Regions from separate parts of the Homo sapiens genome. Here region 2 is linked to region 1. The links are contacts of gene promoters, found by promoter capture Hi-C in blood cells and fetal thymus (Javierre and others, 2016). All regions are on one chromosome and are shown on one strand. The core of a region is centred on a gene start or on the middle of the fragment in contact, and the rest is flanking DNA. Distances in the headings are between cores, read along the strand shown. Region 1 holds the start of RNF133 (ring finger protein 133). Region 2 overlaps SLC13A1 (solute carrier family 13 member 1).

What was found. The method cuts DNA at HindIII sites, captures the fragments that hold promoters and counts their contacts. A CHiCAGO score of 5 or more calls a contact.
Region 2: a fragment that was not itself captured here is called in contact with the fragment with the promoter of RNF133 in region 1 in 1 of 17 cell types (endothelial precursors); the score reaches 5.8 in endothelial precursors.

What each region holds. Positions count from the first base shown.
Region 1 is chr7:122,696,402-122,701,447 of GRCh38, reverse strand. It overlaps RNF133 (ring finger protein 133), which reads left to right and starts at 2,331. Exons shown (of 1, transcript NM_139175.2): 1 at 2,331-3,713. The coding sequence starts at 2,530. The coding sequence ends at 3,660. All of the region lies in intron 2 of CADPS2 (calcium dependent secretion activator 2), which reads left to right. The HindIII fragment of the contact is 4,309 bases long and covers 1,855-5,046 here.
Region 2 is chr7:123,153,921-123,158,966 of GRCh38, reverse strand. All of the region lies in intron 6 of SLC13A1 (solute carrier family 13 member 1), which reads left to right. Among named protein-coding and RNA genes, the nearest start is that of SLC13A1, 44 kb to the left of the region's middle. The HindIII fragment of the contact is 1,862 bases long and covers 1,428-3,289 here.

The DNA of each region.
Region 1 (5,046 bases), core at 1,082-3,581:
CCACCCCACAACAGGCCCCGGTGTGTGACGTTCCCCTTCCTGTGTCCATGTGTTCTCATTGTTCAATTCCCACCTATGAGTGAGAACATGCGGTGTTTGGTTTTTTGTCCTTGCGATAGTTCGCTGAGAATGATGGTTTCCAGCTTCATCCATGTCCCTACAAAGGACATGAACTCATCCATTTTTATGGCTGCATAGTATTCCATGGTGTATATGTGCCACATTTTCTTAATCGTATCCCTTTTTGCCCTTATCCAAATAAGAACATTAGTATATGTTAAAAACAAATTTTTTTTTCTTCAAGTTACTAGGATTGTGACATTGCCATAGAGAATTAGCCATGCTATTTTAAAGTTTCCTTTTTTAATACTAATTCTTGTACTTTGTTTCCACATTTTGACTAATTTTGGTATCTAATAATTTATATCTCTGATTCTCCATGGTTAATTAATTTTATTAATACCCAGGAAATCTAGTTTCCAAAGCTACTCACTGGATTGGTAATGTGTTCTAAATAATTATTTTAGATGATAGTACTTTGGATATGTAAGGAAAAGTGTTCTAAATTATTATAGGCTTCATTTAGGATAACATTGCAAACATTCACTTTTGTTTGCCAGAGCTCTTTAAATCCTAGCATAGTGACTCAGCTATGGTAGCAGATTTCTTTTCTAGAAGTGTCCTTAGTAAATGCTTCTCTTTTCCTCTCCAAATGGTAATGAATGTTTCTCTGGGGGCATTTTGATAACATAGGGCAGAGCTAAAATTTTGTTCAATTGCCTTTCGATGTTATATTCTTTGCCTTATTTTGCATCTTCCTTTTTTCTAGTAGATGAATAAACACCTATATAACAATGAGAGACAGAAAGATTTAGGTATTGTTGTATTGATGAAAATTTCTGTTTCTGGATGATATGCTAAACTTTTGATACCTCAGTGTCACTTTGTGAATATACACACCATATACTACCTTTTAAAATGTGCAGGGATGTATGAAAATAAAATCGGATTAATGGCCTTTGGGAGAGAAAATCAACCTTTATGGGTATGTTTTATATCATCAGTATTCTTTTTATACTAGTTTTTGTTGGCCCATAGGGCCCTTTGTTCCTTCATCTTTCTTGTCTCAAATTACCATGTTGTAGATTTACATTTCATAAGAAGTAACAGCTCCTTTAGTCCTGGTGAGTTCCAACCAAAAGTGACTTCTAGCACTTTACGTATGTAGACCAGAGACATTCATGTTCAAGGTCAGAATCTTTGGCCTCGGTTTCCTAGCTGGTGGGAAAAAACCCACTGAGATTCACCGCCAAGAAAGTGTACCAGTAGCAGCGTGGCTGCTTGTGAACTTACTATGCTTGTGAGTCCACATGCCATCCTTTAGCTTTGATGTCATATTGTGCCACTGACATGATTGTGGCAAAAACATAGGCAGAGTGGACAGAGCCTGTGGAATCTTCTAATAGGGATATTTGTTAAGTTCTGCAAAAATGTTTGATAAAAGCATCTACTTATTGCTGCTAATGGTTAACTTTAAGTGTGCACCTTGAAGTTTTTCTTAATAGCTGTTTTTTAAAAAATGAATTGTGCCAAACTAATATGACTATATTTAATCTTTCCCTTGACACCCTTTCTCCTCCTCTTTCAAAATATTGTTTGATTAATAACAGACATCAAAGTCTGCAGAGAAATTAGCTTCCCTAGATATCAGTCCTTTCTTTACTCCTGTCAGTCTTACTACATTTGTACAGTCAATGTAAGACAGAGAAAGTGAGGCAGAAGTAAACTGAGCAGGATCCCTTACTTTAAAACAGCAAAACCATAAAACAAAAGCCACAAACTTCTCAGAAAGCTTAAATTAAATAAATGCAATATAATGGTTTATGTGATGAATCAAAAATTAGCAGTGTGACTTTTACTTTTTGATGTAAAAATAATGTCACTAAGCTCACCACTTTTGCCTCACATCCGGTCACTGCACTAATTTTTAATTATCCTTTTTTTTAGCTTGCCATTTTGTTGGAAATATCTCCTTCACTTGCTGGGAAAATAAAACATTCTTACATGTGCTTTCAGGCTTTAAAGAGCACACATTGTATGAATTTTAGATTTAATTTTTAGTTTAATGTGCTATCTACTACCATTATATGTAGCTCAGTGATTATATCCATCTTATAACAACATAGAAATCACCCATAACAGCATTTAAGCCAATAAATTCACAGTATGCTCTAAGCTCTTATCTAATTGGCTGCTGGGTCTTGCATGTCATAATCACATCACACAATAGTAAGCAGTATCTAGAGTTAACAGTAGGGGATTTATTTTTCAATCTAAAGTTTTTCACCTCTCTCTAGTAAGACATCTGAAACTCATAAGCCATCTTTAAGAATTTCTTACAAAAACATGCTGGAAGACAGTGGATCTTGTTTGTATCCTGAAGATTTTTTTCTCTTCGTTATTTTAAATTAATTGTCAACAGATGTGCAACTGTTAGGTTGGTTCTTAAGTCACTCGGAGAAGAGAGAGATGCATCTACTCAAGGTTGGCACTTGGAGAAACAACACTGCCTCTTCCTGGCTTATGAAGTTCAGTGTTCTTTGGCTTGTTAGTCAGAACTGTTGCAGAGCAAGTGTTGTTTGGATGGCTTATATGAACATATCATTTCATGTTGGGAATCATGTGTTGTCAGAGTTGGGAGAGACTGGAGTCTTTGGAAGAAGCTCCACTTTGAAGAGAGTGGCAGGAGTTATAGTGCCACCAGAGGGAAAAATCCAAAATGCATGTAATCCCAATACCATTTTCAGCCGATCAAAGTACTCAGAGACCTGGCTTGCACTTATTGAACGGGGAGGTTGTACCTTCACACAGAAAATTAAAGTGGCAACTGAGAAGGGAGCCAGTGGAGTGATCATCTATAACGTTCCAGGTACTGGCAACCAGGTGTTCCCCATGTTTCATCAGGCATTTGAAGATGTCGTTGTGGTTATGATTGGTAACTTAAAAGGCACGGAAATTTTCCATTTAATTAAGAAGGGAGTTCTCATTACAGCCGTGGTTGAGGTGGGGAGAAAGCACATCATCTGGATGAATCACTATTTGGTCTCTTTTGTGATTGTCACAACTGCTACCTTAGCATATTTCATCTTTTATCACATTCATAGACTTTGTTTAGCAAGGATTCAGAACCGGAGATGGCAGCGATTAACAACAGATCTTCAGAACACATTTGGACAACTCCAACTTCGAGTAGTAAAAGAGGGGGATGAAGAAATAAATCCAAATGGGGATAGCTGCGTAATTTGCTTTGAACGCTATAAGCCTAATGACATAGTTCGTATTCTGACTTGTAAACATTTTTTCCACAAGAATTGCATTGACCCCTGGATTTTACCCCATGGGACATGCCCCATTTGCAAATGTGATATTCTTAAAGTTTTGGGGATTCAAGTGGTTGTTGAAAATGGAACAGAACCTTTGCAAGTTCTAATGTCAAATGAACTGCCTGAAACCTTATCACCTAGTGAAGAGGAGACAAATAATGAAGTTTCTCCTGCAGGAACCTCAGATAAAGTAATCCATGTGGAGGAGAACCCTACTTCTCAGAATAATGACATCCAGCCTCATTCAGTAGTGGAAGATGTTCATCCTTCACCTTGATGGCATGACTTTTGAGGAAGTGTATTAAACCTGTATGTGAAATCAGGTCCTAATACTGACAAGCAGTTTGTCTGTTTGAAGTGTGGTTTTTGTGTCCTTTTTTGTTACTTCAGTAATTTTATACATTCTTTGTCCAACCTCAAAGATAGCAAAAAAGTCCTAGCGGGATTTTTTTTGTGCAATTTTGGACCTTTGCTAAGTGTAATTTTTTGTCAATGTATGTTACTCCTGTGAGTGTACATATGTATATTTATATGTACACATTCATGTTAAAGCTAAGGACAAACTTATTTTCTTAAATATTTACTGTACATATATTGGGTTCTATTTTGGTAAGAAAATTACTGATATGTAATATGTTCTAATACAGAAAGTATCAATTAAGTTTGAAAACAATAAATTATCTTTTATGTGCTAGGAAGAGTAAAAATTATCTTTTGATAACATATTTATAGTATGTCTTAGTTGTGAGGTTATTGTGCTGTTTTTTTCTTTTGCATTCTTGGCATGAACATTTTACAAAATCTTATTATTCTTATTCTTGATAAATAGTTCTGTTCAAGCAGTTAGTACATTTTTTTTGTGATATGCATCTGTATAGTGAAATTTTAAAATAAAATACTAGCACTCTTTAAGTGAACAGCAACTATTTTAGTGTCCAGTGTTACTTACAATAATTGTTACATATTCATAATACATAGAACGACTTTGATACTTAGTCATGGCAAATTTACTTCCCATGTGTTTCTCCCCACTCCCCAATTTGTTTTCTTAAATAAAATGTTTAATCTATGCCAGACTATTCTTGAAATAAGTGATACAATATAGAAATTATTATTATTATGATATGGTCATGTTTCTTTTGTTCACTATATTCTCAGGGTCCAGCAGAGTTCCTGGCACTCGAGTATTTTTGAATGAATGAATAAGTGAATGATAAATATCTTTGTTGTAATGCAACTATTATGTGTTAATTTGAAAAACTTGACTGTTTTTCCCAATTATACAAAATAACAGAAAATTTTGAAGTTTTTCACTCTAAATTACTTTGAAAAAATATTAAATTATAATTTTAGCCCAGAATTTATTATTACAGTTCAGCATGCATAATTTTAATGAGCAGCTTTGAACTCTAAGGCTAACACTGGGATTTGAATTGCTGCGCAGCCTTGGAGGGTGACCTAGTGAAGAGGAATCTTGTGAGTTGCTCAGTGTTAACAATACTGCAATTCAGACACAGGTAGAAGGGCAGTAGTTAGCTATAACTGCTTCCATGACCATGGGGTCATGGAAGACTAAAGGAGGAGAGACACTAATCTAAGGCCAGGAAGAATCGGCAAAAACTGGGCAAATGACCAGGTGTGAGCCATGCCTTGCTTGGTACAC
Region 2 (5,046 bases), core at 1,109-3,608, 460 kb before region 1:
CCCCTATCTGGGGTCATGGTCCTTCTTCTTGAATATATCTTTTGAATGTATTTCAGAGAGTGATTTTGGTGTTAAATTCACAGTTTTTGTTTGATAGATTTCTATAATTCTTGAAACATGTTTTTATAGTTATAGTGTGCTAGATAGGTTATTATTTTTTATTTTGCACATTGAAATATATTTATATATTTCTACTGCCTTTTGGCTTTCTTTTTTTCTATTTAAAAGTCAGCTAGCTATCAGTCAAATTATTATTCCTTTGTAGGCAATCTTTTCTCTTTGGTTGCTTTAATGATGTGTGTGTATATGTGTGTGTGTGTGTGATAGAATTTTACTTTGCTATGCCTAAGTGCATATTTCTCCTGAATCTGTGTATTGATCTTTCCCAACAATTCTTGCAAATTATCAGGTGTTATTTCTCAATATTCAATTGCCTCATCCTAGTTCTCTGTATTCTCTCCCTCTGAGTCTCCAATTAAACATTCTGCACTTTCTCACTGTGGTTTCTAAGCTATTTAACATCTATTTTTATGAGTAGTAACTTCTGATTTATATTCCAGCTAGTTAATTTTCTCTTTAGCTATGTCTATTTTGACCTATTTACTGAGCTTTTAAATTGTTATTTAAATTTAATTTATGTAAACTCTATTTGTCTTAAGATTTGCCTGTAACTTTTATAATCTTTTTCATATTTTCAATTGCTTCTCTAATTTTATTAATCATATGTAAATGTAATTATATTTTGTGTCTGTGTCCAACACCTCTGAGGTCCTTGTGGGTCTCTTTCTTTGATTTAGTTTTTATTTATTTATTGCTGGTTCTCATTTTGTTGAATTATTTTCTTGCATGTTCAGTACTTTTAAACATTGAAATTTTTTTTTAGTTACTATGGAAATTCTTTAAGTCCTATGTTGCAGCTTCTTGTAAGAGTTTTCAATTATATTGCTATTTCTCTTTAACACACACATAACATAAATTAGTGCTTTAAGAAAAAATGCTCATGGTTAGGAATTTTTAGGGGATATTGTTTTCCCTTAATTCAGCATGATATTTTCTTTCTGCTTCTGCAAAGGATACCAGCTTTATGTGTATTTTCTTGTATGATTCCCCACACACATTTGGCCTGGAGCAATATCTTTTATACCAAGCTCTCCTTGCAACATGATACACTGAAATCTGAAATCCTATTTTAAATCCAGCTTTAAAATGATTGTTGCACTTTAAAAGATTGTTTTTAATATTTTAAATAGCATCTCATTTAGCATGGGAATCTGATTTGTCATGCTGCTGGATAGAAAAATATGCTATGTTATTATATTTTGTTTCAGTCATTTTTACAACTAGAAAGAGCAAGGTTTTTCTCAGTGGCACACACACACAAACACACATACACATATGCTTTTTCCTAAGAAAGTATAAGGGAAGCTTCTAAATAGTTAACATTTAGGGCAATAAAATTTTTTAAGTAAATATTGGATTTAATCATGACTTTTAACATTTCTGAAAAATAGAGTTTATTTATAAAGAGGCCTCATGTCCTTAATGCTACATTTTAAACATCTCTTTATTCATCACACACAATAAATGTTTATTACTTTATAAACATATCCAAATTCACAATATGTAATAGTTCTTTATTAACTACGGTGGATAAAAATTCTATTTCAGAGTCTTACCGATAACTTCAATTTTACTACCAACTCCTCTGAATTCTTCAGGTTATTACTGATTATATTTTCACTAGATCTTCATGAAGAGTTCATACTAGCTGTAAGGAGAAGATCCTCTCCTACAATTTCTTGCTATTCACTTATCTAGTACTTTCATTCAATAATTTCTTTACAGAAGGATGTGGGGAGAGTTTAGGTATCCCTTGTAAGAAAGCAGAAACACAGGAAAACGTTGCAGAGTGATACTGAGGCCCATCTGAGGTCAGAGGTTGTGGATTTCTCACAGCACCAGCGAGCTTAGCCAAGGGATTTTCTCCAGTGGCATCCAAGAGAGCATAGAAATTGATTTTCATATTAAGCTGAAGTTCAGGGTCCATAAAGATGGGAACAGCAAAATGATAAGCCTGCTGGGATGTTGAAGGCACAGCAGGAGAGTTGTCAGTGATTCATCTGAAGGGATAGGTTTGCCCTGGTAAAGAATGAGGCCTTGAGAAGGTCTAGAAGGACTTGAGCTCCTGATAGGGCCAAAGAGAAGGCATGGAGAAGAAAAAGGATGGGAAAACTAAAGGGATCAACTATTGTGATCAGAGCTTCGTCTAATAAAGAATCCATTATAAAAAAAATTTCTTTACAGAAATAATCTTCTTATAGACATTTTAAACCATTAGAACACTGTAGGAAGGCTGGTTTAATTAAATAACATAATCTGTTATTAACTTAACTGAGGATCTTTAAACTCAACATGCAGACCAAAAGGACAGGTTCCCACTGTCTCAATTCCTCTGTGCACTATGGAACTTCCACTCTCCTGTTCCCTTTTTAGTTACATCATCTACCAACATATGGACCACGAAAGCACCAAGGTCAAAAGTGGGCATTAATTATTAGTAAATATTTATTTCTTTAATTTTGAAATGTAAAAAGATAAATATTGCATCTTCCATTAAGATGGCAGGTTAAATAGGCCCATTTGTTACCACTTTTCTAAGTCTTCATTAAAACAAGAACAAATAGACTTTCAAATATAATCCAAATTATATAAACATCAAGAGAAGACATGACAGCAAAATCATTTTGGAAGCTGGAAAGTAAAAAGATGAGTGGAAAATAACCCCATTATCCCCAGTAATCCCATGGAAGCTGAATCCTAAATCGGTAATGAAAAAAGCCAATAAACAATTCAATTTCCATAGCAGCAGGCTTCAACATTTTTAAAATGCTGAAAAGCAGGAGGAAGAAAAAATTGCTTGTGAAGCAGTTAAATCTTCTACTTTCTTCCTCAAATCCACATGGATGCAACAGCTTCTAATCCACCAAACAGAAATATGATCTTCAGACAAGGTAAAACGGGATAAGGAGAACCAGATCCAGTTCTGGGCTGGGGGAGGGTGTCACAAGGAAAACAGGGGTACTGAGCGATAGCTTACAAGTTGAAAATGGAGAACCCGGCCTTCTACCTACACTGGTCCAGGAGCCAAGTCTATGCCTTTCGGGTGTCAGCAGGCAGAAGGCCAGATGATGCTTCCTTGGAGAACACAATCAGCGTTAAGAGAGATGAAAACATTGACCTTAGAATTTTCTCAAAAAAAGGCCAAGTCAGATGACATTACAGTGAAGCTTACAGGCAACAACAAATCCCAAAATACGAGTGCAGAGCTTCTACACAAATATTCACCGCCTGAAATGTGAGCAGACAACCAAAAATTCCTGGATATCTGATGAAAGCCTCAATTATGAAAGAGAGATTGCCAAATAAATAAAAAGAAAAAAGAGCAATTTGCGGGAAACAGAGACTATGCAAGAAGAAGAGACTATAAAAAAGAAAATATCATTAATATAATCAGAGAGGCAAACAAATATATTACTTGTATTTATGAAATACAAATACAAATAGTATTCTATAAAAGAGAATCAAGAAGGCAAAAATACAAAATATGTAAATATAAAATAAAGTATAAATGTAAAATATAGAGATATAAAAGCATAAATGGAAAATTCAGTAGACAAAACAGAAAGAAACAGAATAAACAGGAAATAAGAGGAGTTTCCAAAAAAGAATAGGAAAAAAGAGAAGAGTATATTAAAAATTCAAGAAAGTTTCTACAATGGAAGAGTACAAGTTTTATGATTAAAGGACTCACTAAATGTCATCAAAATGAATGAAGCAGACCCACACAGGGCAGGTCTGTTTTAAAATCTTTGAGTTTTCAGAATACTATAAGATGACCCTAAAAGCTCTCAAAAAGGAAGAAACACTAATTCCTTACAAAGGATCAAAAATATGAATGACTGAATACTTCTCCCCAGCAGCACTACTCAGAGACAGCAGAAAAACTGCCTTCAAAATTCTAAGTAACATTTATTTCCAACCTAGAGTCAATATCCAGTCAGACTTTTGATGAAATAAGAGGGAAGACTTAAGTCTAGATAGCTCTTTGCAGTTCTAGAGAAAAAATAACTAGGTTTGGGACAGGAAAGGAGGCCCTGAAAGAGATGTCATCAAGACAATAAAATTGGCAGAATATTGATGTGAATTAGGTATCCTATCACTTGATTGTTCTGAGAGAATGTTTAAGCAACCAGGGAATATTTGGGACTGATTCAGTAGTAGGTACTTTAAAAAATAAGCAAGTAAAAGAAGGAAAAGACATATTCTAACTTACAGAAGGGGCAGGAAAAGTAATGTATATCATATTTCTAGCTGTTAATAGAGCTCTAGGCAACATATTGAAAATGTGAAGTCTGTACTATAAGCAACATTATGACAGAGCCATAATTGGAGGATGATACAAAGTATACGTATTCAGTGAAGGAAGCTGTGAAAGAAATCTGCAATCGTTGCCACCAGGTGGCAATAGTGAGTTACATCTGGACCTGCAGGATTTCTGTTGTGACAGGTCCACTGTGATGATGTCATTGGATTCTGCATTCGGTCATGTCCTCATAGGAAATTTTTCAGTTACTTGGAAGAAGATGTGGAAGGCATACTCCACATGTATGGTAGACAGAAGGGATTGAATAAAAACACAATAGGTTACCATTGTGGTAAAAGCAGTATGAAATGGAACTCAAATGTAGTTTTAAAAATTCATAGAAGTAAAGTATTCTGGAAGGCAAGTTGGTACAGGGGAAATTCACTGAGAGAGAACTCACAGACATGGATTCTGCTTTCAAGTCTGTAGTAATCAGCTGGGTCACACTTGAGACTCATTTTGCACTTCTGAAATATTAGGTCTTTACACCATATAATCTCTAACTACCTGTCTGCCCTAATAGTCTATAATTCCTTTATATGTTAAAAAAACTTATTTCTGGCAATAAAAGTTACAAAAAGTATCAAGAAGGTGGAAGATACCACTAAGCTCATGATTAAGAA